Regions from separate parts of the Homo sapiens genome. Here regions 1, 2, 3, 4, 6 and 7 are each linked to region 5. Evidence: promoter capture Hi-C in 16 types of primary human blood cells and fetal thymus (Javierre and others, 2016). All regions are on one chromosome and are shown on one strand. The core of a region is centred on a gene start or on the middle of the fragment in contact, and the rest is flanking DNA. Distances in the headings are between cores, read along the strand shown. Region 1 has its middle 3.8 kb from the start of ZNF280D. Region 2 overlaps TCF12 (transcription factor 12). Region 3 overlaps TCF12 (transcription factor 12). Region 4 overlaps TCF12 (transcription factor 12). Region 5 holds the start of TCF12 (transcription factor 12). Region 6 overlaps ZNF280D (zinc finger protein 280D). Region 7 overlaps ZNF280D (zinc finger protein 280D).

What was found. The method cuts DNA at HindIII sites, captures the fragments that hold promoters and counts their contacts. A CHiCAGO score of 5 or more calls a contact.
Region 1: a fragment that was not itself captured here is called in contact with the fragment with the promoter of TCF12 in region 5 in 1 of 17 cell types (fetal thymus); the score reaches 6.3 in fetal thymus.
Region 2: a fragment that was not itself captured here is called in contact with the fragment with the promoter of TCF12 in region 5 in 2 of 17 cell types (naive CD4 T cells and activated CD4 T cells); the score reaches 5.3 in naive CD4 T cells.
Region 3: a contact is called between a fragment that was not itself captured here and the fragment with the promoter of TCF12 in region 5, in 2 of 17 cell types (M2 macrophages and total CD4 T cells). The highest score is 5.3, in M2 macrophages.
Region 4: a fragment that was not itself captured here is called in contact with the fragment with the promoter of TCF12 in region 5 in 8 of 17 cell types (endothelial precursors, M0 macrophages, activated CD4 T cells and 5 more); the score reaches 10.3 in endothelial precursors.
Region 6: a contact is called between a fragment that was not itself captured here and the fragment with the promoter of TCF12 in region 5, in 1 of 17 cell types (fetal thymus). The highest score is 7.3, in fetal thymus.
Region 7: a fragment that was not itself captured here is called in contact with the fragment with the promoter of TCF12 in region 5 in 1 of 17 cell types (fetal thymus); the score reaches 9.7 in fetal thymus.

What each region holds. Positions count from the first base shown.
Region 1 is chr15:56,735,990-56,738,689 of GRCh38, reverse strand. No RefSeq gene overlaps it. Among named protein-coding and RNA genes, the nearest start is that of ZNF280D, 3.8 kb to the right of the region's middle. The HindIII fragment of the contact is 5,857 bases long and covers 1-2,700 here.
Region 2 is chr15:57,171,454-57,174,153 of GRCh38, reverse strand. All of the region lies in intron 6 of TCF12 (transcription factor 12), which reads right to left. Among named protein-coding and RNA genes, the nearest start is that of SNORD13D, 110 kb to the left of the region's middle. The HindIII fragment of the contact is 1,064 bases long and covers 867-1,930 here.
Region 3 is chr15:57,121,908-57,124,607 of GRCh38, reverse strand. The region is part of intron 5 of TCF12 (transcription factor 12); the gene reads right to left. Among named protein-coding and RNA genes, the nearest start is that of SNORD13D, 160 kb to the left of the region's middle. The HindIII fragment of the contact is 3,911 bases long and covers 1-2,700 here.
Region 4 is chr15:57,138,059-57,140,758 of GRCh38, reverse strand. The region is part of intron 5 of TCF12 (transcription factor 12); the gene reads right to left. Among named protein-coding and RNA genes, the nearest start is that of SNORD13D, 140 kb to the left of the region's middle. The HindIII fragment of the contact is 784 bases long and covers 970-1,753 here.
Region 5 is chr15:56,917,337-56,920,036 of GRCh38, reverse strand. TCF12 (transcription factor 12) reads right to left here and starts at 1,393. Exons shown (of 21, transcript NM_207037.2): 1 at 1,131-1,393; 2 at 49-145. The coding sequence starts at 123. TCF12-DT (TCF12 divergent transcript) reads left to right here and starts at 1,538. Exons shown (of 4, transcript NR_015419.2): 1 at 1,538-2,497. RefSeq lists silencers at 354-793, 844-1,133, 1,224-1,273, 1,444-1,573, 2,094-2,233. The HindIII fragment of the contact is 11,533 bases long and covers 1-2,700 here.
Region 6 is chr15:56,674,424-56,677,123 of GRCh38, reverse strand. ZNF280D (zinc finger protein 280D) reads left to right here. Exons shown (of 22, transcript NM_017661.4): 13 at 308-454. Among named protein-coding and RNA genes, the nearest start is that of ZNF280D, 58 kb to the left of the region's middle. The HindIII fragment of the contact is 2,556 bases long and covers 26-2,581 here.
Region 7 is chr15:56,710,560-56,713,259 of GRCh38, reverse strand. All of the region lies in intron 1 of ZNF280D (zinc finger protein 280D), which reads left to right. Among named protein-coding and RNA genes, the nearest start is that of ZNF280D, 22 kb to the left of the region's middle. The HindIII fragment of the contact is 7,498 bases long and covers 1-2,700 here.

The sequences.
Region 1 (2,700 bases), core at 192-2,691, 180 kb after region 5:
TGAGTCTTATGTTTTGTATGACTCCTGTGCACAGTACCATGTGAATACCTTTGTATGCCTTTTCTCCTGTTATTCTCTCTGTTGTTGGTAATTTCAGCAGACTCAAACCTTCAGATGTGAAAAATTTCCTTCGCCCCCAACAATAAACTGGTTAATTCTGTTCTATGCTAATCTCCTTCTGATAACATCTTGCTAAAAATATCAAAAATCACCAACCTCTACCATTAATATTGCTTTCTGAACTCTTCCCTTAGCTCTACAAGTTATGTAGATACTAATCTGCCTTGTGAGATATTGTAAGCAAGAGTTTAGCCACTGCCTAAAGTGAACCTTCAGCTGTCCACCCTCCTACATCTATTTCCTCGATTCCCACCTGATTGCTGTGCTAAGCTAATGACACACATTTTAGTTTTTATCATTGTAGGCCATCACTATTATTAATCAGAGTTAGTGATTTGAGCTATTGCAACAAACCACCCTCAAATCTCAGGGTCTTAACCCAATAAAGGTTTATTTTTTGCTCCAATCAGTCCAGTGAGGATCAGTGTGTTGATGCAATTTTTAAGAAACCCAGAGTCCTTCTATATAATGTTGCTGCCATCCCCCAGCTTCTCAGAGTTTTCTGTATCTAGCTGACTGGTGTGTGAAAAACAAATAGGAACTATAAATTACTGGAAGTTTTAAGGTCAGGCTTGCATGGGAGGGTCACTGCTTCTGTTTACATTCCACTGTCCAGAATTAGTTACACAGCCCAATATAAAAGGTAAGGAAGCTGGGAAACATAGGTTTCCTGGGTGCAAAGAGGAAAATAAGATGGTGAATATGTATCATTATCTCTGTCACACTTAACGATGATTTCAGTTGCAGGTAAGAGAAAATTCAACTCAAATTGGCCTTGTGGGGGAGGAAAAACTTTTCTTCTACTTTTTGAGGTTCTATAATTGGGGGCCTGTGAATAAACTGACAAAGGACAAGAGAAGACAGATTTTAATCACATATGTACGTAAGGAGATCACAAGGAAGTGTTGACTCCAGAGGGTGGTTAGAATTTGGGGCTTAGAGACTGATATACTTCCCTGAAGGGGAGGGGGAGAAAAGCACTTATGGGAAAACAAATGACTTCTTAGAAGGGGAAGGAGCAGAAAGGGAACTTACGGAAATGACTTTTGGGAAAGATAAATGGGCCCTTTGGAGAATAGATGGGAGATATCATAGTTGTTTTGACAATGTCTGTTTAGATGTGGTGACATTCTCATAGTCTCTGACGGTGACTCAATCTTCCTTGGTTGCTCCCTGGAGGGAATTTATAACAATTGAGTTCTTTTGGGTTCTTTTGAAAGGCTCTGCTTTTAGGTAGATAAGGGATTTCAGGAACATAAACATATTCAGCTCAAAATAATTTTTATGCCACAATGGCTTATTCTGGATCCCTTCAGCTTAAACAACAAAGGTGATTTATTAGCTCATAAACCAGAAAAGTCTAGAGGCAGTATGGGTTCCGGTGATGTTTTATTTGAAGGTTTATGATTCTCTCAGGGATTGGCTTCCTTTCCCTATGATTGATTCTCCCAGCTATTCCTCCTTCACGTGTTGGCTTTATTTTCAGTTGGCTCTACTTAGTAGCAAAGAAAAAAAAAAGAGGGAGAATGTAGCTCTTCCAGTATTTACATTTGAATGCCATACCATTCAGAGAAAAAAAAGAACTTCTGTATTCTCTGCAATAAAACAAAAATCCTAGGCTTCCCTCTGATTGGCCTCTGAAACAAAAACTAGTTCAAAGGGTGAGGGTAACTCTGATAACTTTTGGCCAGTTGGACAATTCTTGGACCTGCTGTGCGGTGTATTACGTCTGTCCAAATTGCATGGATGAACACAAAGTAATTGTGGAATGAAAGCTGGGAGATCACCCATATTCACTGCAATAATTCAGGTAAGGATGTGGAGCATAATCTCACTTAAGGAGAATGAGTACTGTGAGGATATCTATAGCAAGTGTGTAACATGTAGAACAGGCTGAGAATGTAAGTCAGAGAAGCTCATAAAAAATGGTGGGAAAGCTCAGACCGTAAGTCAGGAGAACCAAAAGAACGGCGTTCTAGAGGCCAAGGGCGTATGATGTCAGAAGTTTGAAGGACGATGTCAGAATCATCCAAATAACTTCCTGTGTGCTGATTCTATTCTCATGAGTCATCTTTTGTAATTTGGCCTCTCACGTAAATGTTCCTTTGAATGAAAATACATTAACCAGCTTTTTGGTCTCCATGGCAGTTGTGTTTTTCATGAACAACAACAAAAAATAATTGCAATTTTGGCTTACACATGTGTCTCAGTAAGTTTGGTTGGTATGAATCATCCCCCAGGATTCAAATTAGTTCTGGAGACTGGCAACATTGAGCTTTTGTCTCTACAAAGTGAGGACTAGACTCTAGAATACAGAGTGCAATCTTCTCTTTCATCCTGTTATAAATAAAAATAATAGGATGCCATCATTTTATTATTTTTACTTTTTATTTTCATAGGTTTTTGGAGAACAGGTGGTGTCTCGTTACATGAATACGTTCTTTAGTGGTGATTTCTGAGATTATGGAGCACCCATCACCCGAGCAGTATACACTCTACCCAATGTATAGTCTTTTATTCCTCACTCCCCTCTCACGCTCTCCCCGGAGTCCCCAAAGTCCACTCTATCATTACTATGTC
Region 2 (2,700 bases), core at 149-2,648, 250 kb before region 5:
GTTTTCTAAACTAACTTGTATAAAATTGGTATTATTTTTTTCCTAAGCATTTGAAAGAATTAATCATTTTGAAAGAAGCCATATGACCCTTATGCTTTCTTTGTGGGAAGGTTTTTGATATGAATTAACTTTCATTAATAGATATACAGGCCGGGTGCAGTGGCTCACGCCTGTAATTCCAGCACTTTGAGAGGCTGAGGCGGGGGGATCACAAGGTCAGGGGTTTGAGACCCGCCTGGCCAATATGGTGAAACCCCATCTCTACTAAAAATACAAAAATTAGCCAGGCGTGGTGGCGGGCACCTGTAGTCCCAGCTACTCAGGAGGCTAAGGCAGGAGAATCACTCGAACCTGGGAGGCGGAGGATGTAGTGAGCCGAGATAGCACCACTTCACTCCAGCATGGGTAACAGAGTGAGACTCTGTCTAAAAAAAAAAAAAGAAAAAAAGATATACATGGATTCAGATTTTGTTTCAATTTGTCTCCTCTTGGTAAGTATTTTTCAAGGAATTCATTTATTTAATCTAAGTTGTCAAATTTACTAAGTTATAATATTTATTATATTCTTAATGTATATATGATTCATAGCAGTAACCTCTCTTTCATTCCAGATTCTGGTAATTTGTGTTCTTGTTCTCTTCTCCTTCCCCTTGTGTTAACTGGTCTAGCTAGGGGTTAACTTTATGATTTATTTCAAATAGCCAAATTTTGGTTTTGTTAGTTTTTTCTATTACATTGATTTCTGCTCTTATTTGTAGTATTTCCTTCTTTCTATTTATTTTGGGTTTACTTTGTGTTTCTTTTTCTAGCTAAGTTCTTAGGGCAGAATCTTGGTCATTCACTGTACATCTTTTCTAATACAAGCTTTCAAAAGTATACTTTCCTTCAAGGCACTGGTTTAGATGCACCAACACATTTTGTTATATCACATTTTCATTATTATTCAGTTAGAAATATCTTCTGAATTTCCTGTGGTTTCTTTTTAAAACAATGGGTCATTTAAACATGTTGCTTAACTTCTGAACATCTGGTGTTTTTCTAGATATCTTACTGACATTGGTTTTTGAGACAGAGTCTTGCTCTGTTGCCCAGGCTGGAGTGCAGCAGTGCAATAACAGCGCACTGCAGCCTCGAACTCCTGGGCTCAAGCAATCCTCCCGCCTCAGCCTCCTGCCACCACACCTGACTAGTTTTCTTTTTTTTTTTTTTAATTTTAATAGAGACAGAGTCTAACTATGCTGCTCAGTCTGGTCTTGAACTCCTGGGCTCAAGTGATCCTCCTGAATCGGCCTTCCAAAGGGCTGGGGTTACAGGCATGAGTCACCACACCTAGTCTTACTGACTTCTAATACAACTTTGCTTTTTACTAAACTTGTATTTTAGATTCAGAGGCACATGTTCAGCTTTGTTATATAGGTAAACTCGTGTCGGGGAGGTTTGTACACGTTATTTCATCACCCAAGAAGTAAGCCTAGCACCCAATAGCTATTTTTTCTGATCCTCTCCCTCCTCCCACCCTCTACCTTCAAGGAGGCCCCCGTGTCTACAGGTGCCTTCTTTGTGTCCCTGAGTTCTCATCAGAGTTTTTATTTAAGTCTTTTGTGTCCAGAGAACATACTCTGTATGGTTTCAAACCTTTCCAATTTACTGACACTAGTTTTATGGACCAGCGTATGATTCCAGCCTGTTAGTGTAATGTGTGCCCCTGAAAGGAATTTATGTTCTTCAGTTGTTGTATGCAGAGTTCTATACATATCATTTAGGTCAAGGTTGTCGATAGTTAATTTTGTTCTACATCTTTACTAAGTTTTTTGTCTAGTTATTCTGCAAACTGCTAAGACAGAAGTATTCAATTTTCCAAGCATGATTGTCAATTTGTTTATCTCTCTCTTTAATTCTATCAATTTTTGTTTTGCTTCGTTTTGAAGCTTTCTTATTAGGCGTATACACATCTGTCATTGTTATGTCTTTCTGATACATCAACTCTTTTATTATTTTATTATTATAAATGTCTGCATATGAGATTGGGTATAACAGGAAAAAAGAACAAGGAAAAACCAAATGGTATAAGCTTATCTCCAAACAACTAAGAGTTAAGTAAGGTACAGTTTTTAAAGCTGTCATTTTTTCAAGGGTATAATATCTGAACTCAGATGAACTTCACACTTTCTGAAAAAAACCAAGACCCTGCCACCTTCTACATTTAAACACTTAGAGAAAAACTTATGAAACTATGTGAATAAATACTTGCTTAAGAGGTATAAATGAAAAACTTTGTTATACTGATAAAAGGATTTTTCACTTAACTGTGGTAGTTTTTAAAGTGATATACCTATTATTAATAAAGACACTGGCTTCTATGCTCTGTGTTTCATCAATAAAAAAATTTAACTGCAGAATGATCTATCAGTGTTTCCAGTAATACTGCCACATGAGTTTCCTTTTAATGGCTCATCAGTTAATGTGATTGTTGTGAATGTAATATGATGACACTCATTTAGCAACATATTATTACATCATCTTAACATGAAGTAAGGCCCATCAGGCATTATTAAATTAGTCTGAATTTTGCAGTATGTCAGCAGCATTTTATGTACATTAATAGCAGAGTTAATGCTCCTTGGGGAATTCTGTTGAAGAAAAATGGTTTTAATGTGGTGTTTGGGTATAATTTTGGAGTCACTATTTATATTTCCTTGG
Region 3 (2,700 bases), core at 180-2,679, 200 kb before region 5:
TGGAGGCCAGCACAAGGACTTCTGGAATGTGGCTGCCTGCATTTCTTCATTTTGTAGAAGAATGTAGCTGTTACCTGCAATACCTGGGAAGTCTGGAACACCCATGGTAACCAGTTCAATCGGATCCATGAAGAAGGCCCCCATCATGCTGGCCAAGGTGAAGTCAACCAGAGTGCCCAGAATTCTACAGGGGATGATGGAGCCAAAGATACCCAAACATGCTAGCTCCCAAATTCCCTAGCCAGTCTCAGCATTGTTTGTCATAGCTGTACTATTTAATATTTTCCTCACATCAATGTTTTGCTGAAATCAAGTAACAGGAAATGAAAATGATAAATCTCTATGGAACAAAGTGGAATCAAAAACATGGAAACCAAAGTATATGAAAAACTCCACTAGAACAGAATGGAAAATCAGCAGCATTTGCCATGAACAGAAACTTCCTGCTTTAGATTCTGAGCCAGAGGCCTTTAGAGGAGAGACTCAAGAATTAAACCAGACACAGTGGCTCACATCTATAATCCCAGCACTTTGGGAGGTTGAGGTAGCGGGATCACTTGAGCTCAGGAATTTGAGACCAGCCTGGGCAATGTGAGACTGTGTCCCTATGGAAAAAAAAAAAAAATTTTTTTTTTTTTTGAGACGGAGTCTCACTCTGTCGCCCAGGCTGGAGTGCAGTGGCGCATCTCGGCTAACTGCAAGCTCTGACTCCCGGGTTCACCCGGGTTCACGCCATTCTCCTGCTTCAGCCTCCTGCGTAGCTTGGACTACAGGCGCCTGCCACCAGGCCCGGCTATTTTTTTGTTTTTTGTACTTTTCTAGTAGAGATGGGGTTTCACTGTGTTAGCCAGGATGGTCTCGATCTCCTGACCTCGTGATCCACCCGCCTCGGCCTCCCAAAGTGCTGGAATTACAGGCATGAGCCACTGCACCCGGCCTTAAAACTTTTTTTTTTTACATTAGCTGAGTGTAGTGGTGCTCGCCTGTAGTCCCATCTACTCAGGAGGCTGAGGTTGCAGTGAGCTGAGATTGTGCCACTATGTTCCAGCCTGGACAACAAAGCAAGATCCTGTCTTAAAAAAAGAAAAAAAAAAAGAGAAGTGGTAGAGTTGCCTTAGCAGCAAATGGAGATTGTCTACCTAATTAGAAGAAATGAAAGACTTTCAAACAAAATACTTTAAAAGAATCTTACAATGGAATTCAAAGTTATTTAACTCTGTGTTAGTATCCCAAATAAATCATTTAAAGAAACAAGGAAATTAAAAAATTTTAAACATTGTTAGCAGTGGTTTCAGCTTCAAAATAAAGCTCATTACCAAAAATAATGCTAATTATATACTTTCTATTGCAAAAGCCTCAGACTTTCATTCACTTAAGAATTATTTTCGTTCATGCTCATTCACTTCATTTAAATCATCAAAGCCATGTAAAAGCAAAAATTTTCTGACATAGCAAAGAGCTAAAGTTTGAATTTAACAAGAAAGAAACACACATAAAGGCAGGAAGTTTACTATTGTATCATTCATTGTTGTGAATGACATCTGTCTTTTTTGCTTCAATGTTGGTAATTATTTTGCATTTAGTTTAAATGTTTGATTTTCTCATCCACTCAACCTTTTCTCCACAATAATCTGAGACCCCTTTCCATTAAATTATTTTAAAAAGCTGTTTTTTAGTTGGTCTGCTCTGCTTATCTATTTTATGTAGAAAGAATAAATCCCTTTCAAATCTCTGTTCAATTTTTTCTACAACTAATGAACACATCCTAATTTATGAGCCTCACTCTTAGAAGGCTTAGTTTATGACCAGTTTGTAAGAGATCTAGTGAATACACATTTTTCTAAATACTGCATTCCAAATTTAATTGTATTTAACAGATACATTCCAAAGGTCCTAACAAAAACAAAACCAGGAAATAAAATGATGGGATGAATTGGCTCTTCTGGTGGTTCTCTTTGAAGCTGAGAAACTATAGTAGTAGCACAGCATTGTATTTTAAGAACATGTACTTTGGAGTCAGAGAAATCTGAGTTCGTTCTACTTCCTCAATCACAACTTAATAGTCGCTGCAGCAAGTTTGTTAGTTGACTTCTCAAGTTTGTTTCTATACCCATAAAATAATGCTGTTAAAAGAATTGAATGAAATAATGAATATAAACACTTCTTACAATGCCTGGCTTACAGGTATGTGCTGAACAAACTGTAGTTACTAGTATATATGATCATTATAATGAGAATTACATTGTCTTTCTGTTTTGTTTTTTGGCCACAAACATGAAGTCCAGTGATTATGTTTCAGGAAATCAAACATGCATCTCTCCTAAGATTGCTTAAGCTCTGATGAAGGGGACTTAAAGCTATAACACAAGGCAAATTTTTATTTCCTCAAAGGTGCCATGGTGAAAAAAATGTGAAAAAAAAAAATCAAGCAAGACTTTAAAAATGAGGTGATGTTTGAACAGGACTATGAAGCATGGGCAGGTTTGGGGGTGGTTTTTTTTTTTTTTTTGTACAAGGAAACAAGGAGATAAGAAGCAGGAAAAGTGAAAACATTTTAAATAGAATAGCATATAGTAGACAATAAATGTTGGCTAAATATGTAATACACAAATAAAAATCTCTATTTTATTCTAATCTCACCCATAGGTATACTGTGTTCACTCACCATCATAAAAATATGGCAAGGACAACCTAGTAAGT
Region 4 (2,700 bases), core at 112-2,611, 220 kb before region 5:
CAGCATCAGTTTCCTCAAATATAAAATAAAATAATTTTGTTTATATCTCATAGAATTTGAATTTAATGCATAAATATACACAAAGGCTTAGCCCACTATGTGTCCCAAATAAATAGTTAAATAAAGGCTATCTGCAATAATTACACGGCACTTTGTAATCAGCAAGCCCTAAGTGATGGAAGGCTTTACTATTAGGCCTTAGATCTATGAATGCAGGAACCTTATCAAACTTGTTTCCTTTGTTTCCACAGTCCTTAGCATAACGTCTGACACTTAGCACATGATCTATAAATATTTGTTGAATAAAAGGAGATTAAAATACTCAAGGGTTGTTGGATGATGAACCTTTTAAGGTTCCTCCTGATCCCGATAATCTGTCTTTATGAATCTGACTACTCTAGGTACTTCACAGAAATGGAATTATACAGTATTTGTCTTTTTATGACTGGCTTATTTCACTTAGCATACTCATTCAATTAAAACATTATCAAGATCCATCCATGTTATAGCATGTGTCAGAATTTCCTTTCTTTTTAAGGCTCAATAATATTCTGTTGTATGCATATACCACATTTTGTTCATCCATTCATTCATCAACACACACTTGGTTACTTCCATCCTTTGGTTAACTGGGAATAATGCTGATATGAACATAGGTGTACAAATGTCTCTTTCAGATCTTGCTTTCAATTCTTTTGGGTATGTACCTGGAAGTAATACTGCTGGATCATATGGTAATTATGTTGATTTTTTGAGGAATAAACTGTTTTTAATTAAATGGCAAAGTGCCTGTCCGATTTCTGTGGGAAAGACGGCATCTACTATACTCCAAATGTTAATACTGATAATGACTGAATGATAGGACTGTGAGTGAATGAAGTTTACTGTCTCTTTTTCTGGCTTACTGTAATTTCCAGATCTTCTATAGGGAGATTATGGAAATTAAAGAATGAAAACATCTATAAAGCTTTTTTGGTACTATTACTTTTTTCTTGAGTGTCATAGCAAATGCTTTAATATTCCTAGCCCCTAAACATTAGTGCAAGCATACTTTTTCTATGAATGCAGGCCACAGCTATAATGCTCTAACTTTTTTTTTTTGGTTTAAAGAAGTAAACATTAGAGATTTTTTAGTGTTTGCAAATAAAGGTGATGGCTAGGAACCTGGAAGATCTCCCTGGTGGTTTAGTTATGCAGGAGCAAAGCCCTATGTAATGAGTGATACTATTAATTTTTCCAGGGAAAAGGACTAAGATTCACTAAAGTTTGCCTAGTCAAGAGAATCTGTCTTCTGCTCCCAATTATCATAATCACCGCTAACACCCTTAAACTGTTTAGGGATGGATACCAACATGCAGCTGAAATCTAGTTATATGTATGATGATTTCTGAAACATCTATACAATAGAACATTAGGTCTTTGCTTTGAAAATTTAGTGTATGTAATTAATAGCCATAAAACGGATTATAAAAGACCATCATTCTTGTGGTACACATGAGTAAGAAATTTTAGAGCAGAGGAAAGTAAGGGGACAGAGATTACGAGAGCAAGAGGAAAGGATATTGGAGAAGGAAGAGTAACTAGAAAAAGAGAAGTCAAGGAGAGGTGAGAAGGGAGAGAGAAAAACAGACTGAGACTGACTGAGATTAATTTTGTCTAAATTATAGGCTAATGTGTTTGGGACAGTCTAAATATGATCTTATCTAGAGGACCTCTCAAGGTCCTTTCTGGAACTGGGATTATGTATAAAGCTTAATTTTAGCTCAAGTTCTCAACTGAAATAGGTAAATGATCTCAGCTACTGGTTAATTTAATCATATATTCACTTACTTAAATTTTTCTCAATTTCAGAAATATTAGTTACAATATTCTAAACCTAAAATTTTGATCATTTAGTAACAGCAAAACTCTTCATAACTGAAAACATCAATTGGTAGCACGCGCTTAAAAAAGAAATGACTACATAATGGCTTATAATGAAAATACCTGGTCATTTGCTTTTTATCTATGAACCCCAATAAACATAGTTAGGCCTCTTCTAGCTCTACCACTTTCTGCCTATTGCCTTATTTTAACTGTCTCCAAATGAACTCTTTTGAGAATAAGTGATTTTAAAAACAAACAGCTGCCCTGTTCCTACAACTGGCTGTTAGAATGGTTTATAAAGTGGAATATATGAATTACCCCTCTAAGCTTTACACTTTTCCTTTCGGTTAGATAGGAAACAGATCTGATTATCTGTGAAGTACTTGTCTGGAATAGCCATAGCAGTTGCCTAAATTTCCACTGGAGGCAGCAGACTCCCCAGGCAAACCCACATCCCATGACTTCTGAAGGTTTTAAGCCAGGAATGGTTAACAGGGTAAGAGAAGAAGGCTTTAAGATAAGGCACATTCCAAGCTTACAGAAAGCTTCTTCCAAGATCCGATTTAAACACTGAAACCCAGGCTCAGCTGTAGAGAAGCAGTGTTAAATGAAAAAACATGAAAAACAGAAATCTTTAGTTAACGCTGAAGTGTCATTTTAGACATGAGCATCAAAGTATAATTTCATGAAATATTTAGCCATCAGTGATATTAACAAGTAAAAGTAAAATGGAAAAACTGGAAATTCTTCTCTTTTGCCTGTCTTTGTTCTCTACCAAGGAGAGAACTGGCTTAAGGATGGGCCACTGAAAAGAGAAGAACAAGTAGAACTGGT
Region 5 (2,700 bases), core at 144-2,643:
AACAAAAACCTCAGCAGAACCCCAAGATGCCATGGAAAGCTCTCATACCGCACTGAAGTCCAGTAGGTCGCTCAGCTCCTTGTCGGTCCCTATAGCGGCCATGCGTTGTTGCTGGGGATTCATCTTCGGCCACTTCTAGCAGGTCCTAGGGCAGAGGAAACGGGCTCAGCGAGAGACCACCGAGGCCCAAAGTGTGTGAGGGAACAGAGAGAGGTACTGGGGAAGATTACGCAAGAGCGCTGGGGGCGCCGGGATGACTTCCAGGACCCCGACTCGCTCCCACCGCGGCGCGAGCAAGGGGCGGGAGGGCTCAGTGCCCGCGCCGGGTCCCGGAATCCACGCGTTCCTCGCCGCGGCCCGAGATCGACGCGGCGGCTCCCGCAACTCGCCGCCTCTCCCCCAAGTTTCCGAGCCAGTCTCTGCCACCTCCTCGGCGCCCCCTGCTCCGCGCCGCCGCCGGGTGCTCCGCGCGCCGGGCCCGGCCGCGGCTGGGGTCTCGAGGAGCGGGGTGAGGGGCAATTCGGCGTCCAGCGAGCGGAGCGGCGGCGAGCGGAGATGCGAAGTGACTCACTCGCTCGGCAACAATAGAACTGACAAGTTGCAGGGAACGCGCCGCTCGCAGGCCCGCGTCTGCGGCCGCCGCCGCCCGGACGTCCCCGGCGGGCCCAGGAGGTCGGAAAGCACCCCCAGCTCATCCAAGGGGCGTTTTTAAACAGAAAACAGAAACCCCGACAACTAGTCTCGCTCTCGGCCGGCGTCCTCCTCCCCAGGCTCGGCCTCCTCCCACTTTTGCTGCCCTGCCCCGGACCTGCCGAACAATGAGCCTGGCTCCGCGGCCGAAGCCGCCCGATCTCCCGCGCGCCCCGGAGCCTGGGCGCCGGCCCGAGTCGGGCACCGAACGGGGCGCACAGGCCGAGCGCGCCGCCAGCGGGCCTGAGCGCCCGCGACTCGAGCCTCCGCCCCCACTCCGCTCCCCAACTTGGAGGGGACCCCGGGTTTCGCGCTGTACAAAGGGGCGCGGAGTTGAGGCGGGGGACGGGGGCGCCCCCACTCCGGCAGGGACGCGGCGGCGCCCCGCAGCCCCCAGCCCCGCCGCGCCGCCCCACTCCCGCTCGCTAGCCCGCAATTACCTGCCGCCCCGTCTCCGCATCCAACCACCCCGATTAAAGTTCACTTTGGCCGGGAGAACGGGCTTGGGCTTCCCCTTGCACCGCCCAGCGGCTCGGTTCACTTTGCCCCGCACGAGCTCTCGGGTCTGGGAGGGGGAGGCGGCTTTCGGGCCTGGCCGCCCCTTCCTCCCGGGGCGGGCTGTCGGTCCCCCCGAATAGAACTTGTGGGTCTCTTCAGGCGGACATTTTTTTCGCTGAGGCGGCCTCACCACCGCGCTCGGCTCGCCTCCGGATCCCTCCGCGCCGGGAAGAGCCGCGGGTTAACCCTTCCCTCCCCGACCCGCTCCGCCGCCTAGGAAGTGGGGCCGGCAGAGGGGGCGGGGAGGAGCTGTCGGGGACTGGGAGGAGCCGCACCGCGGCGGGTGGACAAAGCCCGCGGTCGGGTGAGGCGGGACGGAGTTGGGGCCGGTGGGGAGGGGCATGAGGCGCTCGCAGGCACCTCGAGAAGCAGGCCCCGACCGCTCGCCGACGAAGCCTCGTCCGGGCCTCCTGGGAGCGGGGTGGCAGGTACCGTGGCGCCTCCTCGCGTTGGTCTTGCTGGTTCTCGGCCCCCGAAGCGGAGCGACGGAGACACAGCTGTGGAAGCATCTGGATCCGCTGCCCAGGTCCCCGAGCTTCCCGGAACCCGAGGCCGCAGGACACTGAAGGCTGCCATTCCCGAGTAGGTCACGCTGGACGCCACCCTAAGCTGGGCCCAGAGGCTCCCGTCCAGGAGGGCTGCAGTCGGCGCAGACACCGCGCGTGTGGAGACGGGAGACCCATCCTCCTCGGCCGTTCCGAGAGTAGGCGCGGCCGGTCAGATTCGATGCAGAGCCGAATGCGGGAGAAAGGGCAAAACGTACCTCAAACCAGACAAAGCCTTGTGAGCTTCAGGTTCTCAAATACCCCACTCACCCAGACCCCACATCTCCAGTCAGCCCCTCGCACCCAAATCCCATTCGGAGCAACCGAACTGCACGTGGGACTAGTTCTTGGGAATGGATCAAGCCAGTCTCTTCATCTAACGGAGACAGCCCTGGGTGGCTCTGTCACACAGCCACTGTCTTGTGCACAAGTTCTGAACTTGGCCTCAGAGAAGCCCCAGAGTAGAAAGAAGACAAAATAAGCCCCAGTTCTTCGATTCTGGGCTGAAGTGAGATTTTCTTGAATGGCAGCCATTGTTTTGCCTCTTAGGTAAGTGAGTGCAGTAAAGACCGGTAAGGCCCACGCAGAAGAAACACTGAGGAAAGAAGACACTTCCAAAGTAACAAATGGGAGGAAGCAGCCAACGCCCGAGGACAACATGGCAAGAAGGAGCCTTTGGATTCCGGACTGGGATGGAAAGAGAGGTAGATTCAGCTACCATATGCCATTACTGTAGTTAGTACAGTTGTCTCTATATCCGTGGGATTGGTTCCCAGACTCTGGATTTTCTAAGATGTTCAAGTCTCTTACATAAAAATGGTGTGTTTCCCCATATACTTTAAATCATATCTAGATTACTTATAAAACCTAATACAATGCAAATGCTATGTGAATAGTTGTTAAGGTG
Region 6 (2,700 bases), core at 54-2,553, 240 kb after region 5:
TTATAGAGCAAGAGGTGCTAAAGCTTGAAACTTCAAGTCAAGACAGAAGGTGATAGATAAAAAGATCTGATAAAGAGAAGGAGATCTAGTTTTGTTTTGGGATGTATCCCTTAACTTTGAAAGCTACGTTTAATGTCTCAAAGATGGTCTTTTGGTGTTGCCTTAGTGAGATTCTTGGTTGCAAAGGCATCAGAGCTAGATTAGTAGTACATAATGTTCTCCTGACAAATTATCCATCATTGTTCCTTTGTAATTGCATATCAGTTTTAAATTTTCAAGTTAAACTAAGCCTTCTTTCTTTTTTTAGGTTTGTAATTATAGATCATCATCATTTTCTGATGTAGAAACTCATTTTAGAACATCCCATGAAAACACTAAGAACTTGCTATGCCCGTTTTGCCTCAAAGTTATTAAAATTGCAACACCATATATGCATCATTATATGAAGCATCAGGTGAGATTTACCAGTTCTTATTTGTTTATTATGTTGTCTTAGTGAAAAAACTGATTATGACTTGGAGAATCTTTAGATTTGTTCTGCAAGAGAAGCAGAGTTGTTCCAAATGACACTATTAATTTACACTTCAAGTTGAATTGCTTGTGAAAATTCCACTTCTTTTCCTTACTTCCTTTCTGGTGATGGTGTGGGTCATAAATAATGAAAATTCTGAAAGATAGCTAGAAATAGGAAGCTGAGGATTGACAGAAAAAGAAAAAGTTGAGTGGAATATCCAAAAGATTGAATATTTCAGGGTCTAAAGGTAGATATGAGAATGATTTTGAAGGGAGTTATCAGGACAAAGGGAATAATGAGTTTGAACTGAGGAAGAAAAGACTGAGGATTTATAATCTTATTTTTCGTTTTGCTCTTCAAACTTTATTTCAACTTTCTAACCCCTTATCATTATGAGAAGACATGTTGTCATTGACCTGGAGTTGTCTTTTATAGTTGTGTGACCATGGGAATAGTAATGACACTTACTGATCAGTATATGAACTCTGGCAGAGAACTATATTTAGATCATCACTTGTTCCCTGGATGGCTTCCACCAGTTTTGCTATATAATTTTGGAACTCAATATTAGTGCTTGTACCCCTCCCTTGAATTCTGATATTATGCTTATTGGCTCTTTTCCTGAAGCAATTAAACCATCTTTTATTTGGGCTAAAAATTTTGATGCAATACTAATCCTGTTCTTGCGTGCTTGAAAGAACAACAGTGCCTTTGCCAAAATTAGAAACCAATGGATTTACCGAATCTGATCATGTAATCAAATTTTGTCAACTCACTACAAAGCTCAATACATTCTCTTATTATTGATTAAATTGACATGCCAATTTATTCAGCATTGGTGCTCACTTTGCTGTCATTTTCAGTTGTTAGTTAAGTCATGAAATTGACTTGCTGTTTTTAATTGGAGAAGATCATGAAAGTAGAATTTCCAGATCAATTTGGGATCATATGTGTTGTGACTAGGATGCCACACATCCTTGAGAGTTTCTGGCAAGATCTATTCTAAGGTTTCCCCAATTACATATAGTAAATTACATATAGTAAGAATTACCTGTAAATCTCTCAAGTCTCCCAAACAATGTAGTATACTTATAAAAAATTTAATACAGATATTTATTTATTCTTGGAATAGATCACTGTTTGTTTTGTTGAACATAGTGTTATAAAAAAAAAAAAGTATCTTCATCACCCTTAGTGCATTTCTTTATGAACAGAATTTGGGAAACACTATTCTTGATACCCCGTATTTCATCTTTGGACTTTAATTTTGAAAGGGAGAATGAGGTATAAAGCAGTAGCTCTAGTTCACGATGGGGTTTTTAAACATAATCTTTCCCAGGTGCTTTGTCAAACTATAGAGTGAGATAGAGATGTGGGAAGAATAGTAACTATGGTAGAGATTTGGGGACCTGCTATGTGCCTGTGTGATTTATAAGCAAGTTGTCATGCCCTGAGTTGTATGTTTTAACTTGCCATGGCTGCCAATTTTCTTTTTTGTTTGGAGTGCCTGGGAGGTAGATAGCCAGCAGTAAAGAGGGGGCAGTCTATTAGTAAGGATCATTGGGCATCTTTGAAGGTATTTACAATTTGTGTAATGATTTACAAGACTGGAAAACCATAGCTGAGTGGGATTATAAACTTGTAGTTGAGATAACATTATTACCAAAGTATTAGACAATCAGAATAGTTGACTCCATGCCTCATTTTATTGTCTTTGAAGAACTCAGTTGTAACTTTTTTTAAAGATTATATTATTATGTCTTTAGTGATTTTAGAGTTAATAACCCAGTTTGTGTGACTTTTAAGAAATATTGATAGAAATTCCAGATGTGTTAAATATGCTCATTAGAGCTTTAATAAAACAAGCAGTTAACATACACTAATTACTTACCTTATGGCAGCAGCTGGTACTTTACATGCATTTTCTTGTTTAATCCTCTCAACCACTAGATGTATATTATTATTTCAGTTTTATAGATGAGGAAACAGAGCTTTAGAGAAAGTAACTTGCCTAATGTCACATTGTCTAATAAAGGCAGAGTCAAAATTTGACTTAGCATCCAAGCTTTTACTGCTCTACCAGAGTTGGATTTCACATTGGCATTGGGTCTAAAGGTAGAAATTACATATAGTAAGAATTACCTGTAAATCTCTCAAGTCTCCCAAACAATATAGTATACTTATAA
Region 7 (2,700 bases), core at 96-2,595, 210 kb after region 5:
ATTTTCACTATTTGAAATAGTTTTTTGTATCTATTAAGTTGATCATATCTTGTTTTGGTGTTGCCAACTTCTTGGTTAGTAATGCAATCCCCAATTAAAACATTTGTATGGTGGGGAGACAAAAAGAAAGATTAACTTTATAATGTGATTTTTTGGATTATTTCATTGATTTTATATCTTGAATTTATGGGATTGGGGGAGATGTAGAAGTTAACCATTTGACCGGGCATGGTGGCTCACACCTGTAATGCCAGCACTTTGGGAGGCCAAGGCGGGCAGATCACTTGAGTTCAGGAGTTCAAGACCAGCCTGGCCAACATGGTGAAACCCCATCTCTACCAAAAATACAAAATTAGTTGGGCATGATGGTGCGCACCTATAATCCCAGCTACTCGGGAGGCTGAGGCAGGAGAATCACTTGAACCTGGAAGGTGGAGGTTGCAGTGAGCTGAGATGGTGCCACTGCTCTCCAGCCTGAGCAACAGAGCAAGACTCCACCTCAGAAAAAAAAAAAAAAAAGCCATTCACCATGTTCCTCATAATCACTTTTGTGTTTTAATTACCAGCTATTTATTTATTTATTTTTTAGAAAATAAAATACTAAGATACATGTAGAATGAGTGTTTTTTCTTTTCTTTCTTTCCTTTTTTTTTTTTTTTTTTTTTGGTATGAGGGTCTCACACTGTCACCCAGGCTGGAGTGCAGTGGCCCAGTCTCGGCTCACTGCAGCCTCAACCTCTTATAGCTGGGACCAGGGGCATGTGCCACCACTCCCAGTAATTTTCTTGTATTTTTTGTGGAGATGGGGTTTTGCCATATTGCCCAGGCTGAGCTCAAGTCATCCTCCAACCTTGGCCTCCCAAAGTGCTGGAATTAGAGGCATGAGCCACTATGCCCAGCCTGAACGTTTTTTTCTTAATAGAAATGGTGTAAAGATACCTTATCTAAATGTTAATTTTTATATGTTGGTACTTTTGAATTGGATACTTATTCTATTAGATTAGTAGTATGTAATTTAACAGTGTGTTATGTTTATATGAGGGTTAAAATTTTTTTTGGTGTATATTTTAATTAGTTTAGAAATGCTTTTTTAAAAAGATGAAAATGTGGTAGGATAGATTTGACAGCCACAGTCTGGAAGATATAAAGCTAAAATTTCATCATGAGAAATTTCACTGTAATGAAGGTCATGTACCACATAATGATGTTTAGGTCAAGGACAGACTGCATTATATAATACGGTGGTCCTGTAAGATTATAATGGACTGAAAAATTCCTATTACCTAGTGATTTGTGTTATAATTGCCTGCGGTATTCAGTACAGTAACATGCTATACAGGTTTATAGCCTAGGAGCAATAGGCTATACCATATAGCTTGGATGTGTAGTAGGCAATACCATCTAGGTTTGTGTAAGTACTGTAGACTCTACGATGTTCTCACAACTACAAAATCATCTAATGATACATTTGTCAGAACTTATCCCTGTTGTTAAGTGATGCATGACCATAAAACAAAATGATTTCTAAATGCTTAGCTGATAGCACGTAAATTCCAGTATAACAGAATTGGGATCAGTTCTTTTTTTTGTTTTTTTGAGACTGAGTCTTGCTGTGTCACCCAGACTGGAGTGCAGTGGCACGATCTCAGCTCACTACTGCAACCTCTGCCTCCTGGTTAAAGCCATTCTTCTTCAGCCTCCCGAGTAGCTTGGATTACAGGCATGCTCCACCATGCCCGGCTAATTTTTTTATTTTTAGTAGAGTCCCGGTTTCACCATGTTGGCCAGGCTGTTCTTGAACTCCTGACCTCAAGTGATCCACCTGCCTCGGCCTCCCAAAGTGCTGGAATTATAGGTGTGAGCCACCATGCCTGGCCTCGAGTTCTTTAAAATGGGATTTATCTCAGAGTTAAAAATAGTTAAACATCGTTGAGTGGTTTCCATGTGCCAGGCACTGAGATGTGTTTTACATATATTATCTCATTTAATCTTCACTATAATCCAATGACATAAGTCTATTTTTATTTTTTATGTATATGTAAATGGTAAATGTATGTATAAAAAGCAGTAAAGCAAGGCACTAGGTTAACTAACTTGTCCAACATCATATTGGTAATAAGTGATTGAGTCAGAATTTGAATTTGGCATTCATTCTTCACCATGTTTTACTCTTCATGGTTACTAAATGTTTAAAGTATACAATAGATTTTGAGCTGAATTAAGCCAGAATCTTTCAGTTGAACTATAAGCCTGAGAGCTAGAATTGAAGATGACTTGGCAGAAGGTTGTGGCCATGCTGGTACTATGACTTGGTTCTCCTGGTTTCTAGTGCGATATTCTTTTTTTAAATGTGCAGATACTACAGTTGTAGTTTGTGAAATTGCTTAATTTTTTTCTTATCAGAAAGTAAAGAGGACTATATCTAGTATATAGCACACCTGTGTCCATAGTATGTGCTCTGTACTTGATCACATGCAGTATTAATATTATTTAACACGGCAGCAGTACATCGGGTGATATCTATCAATGGATGAAAGTGAAAATTTCAGATAGTTAAAACACTTAGACCCACATTTCCATTGATTTCTAATTTTTTTTATAGAAAAAATAAGATACAGTTTAATTTTAGATAAAAACTGAAACCAAAAATTTATAAAATAGGAATTATAATTATTTATGTGGGCAGTATCCATAAATGAA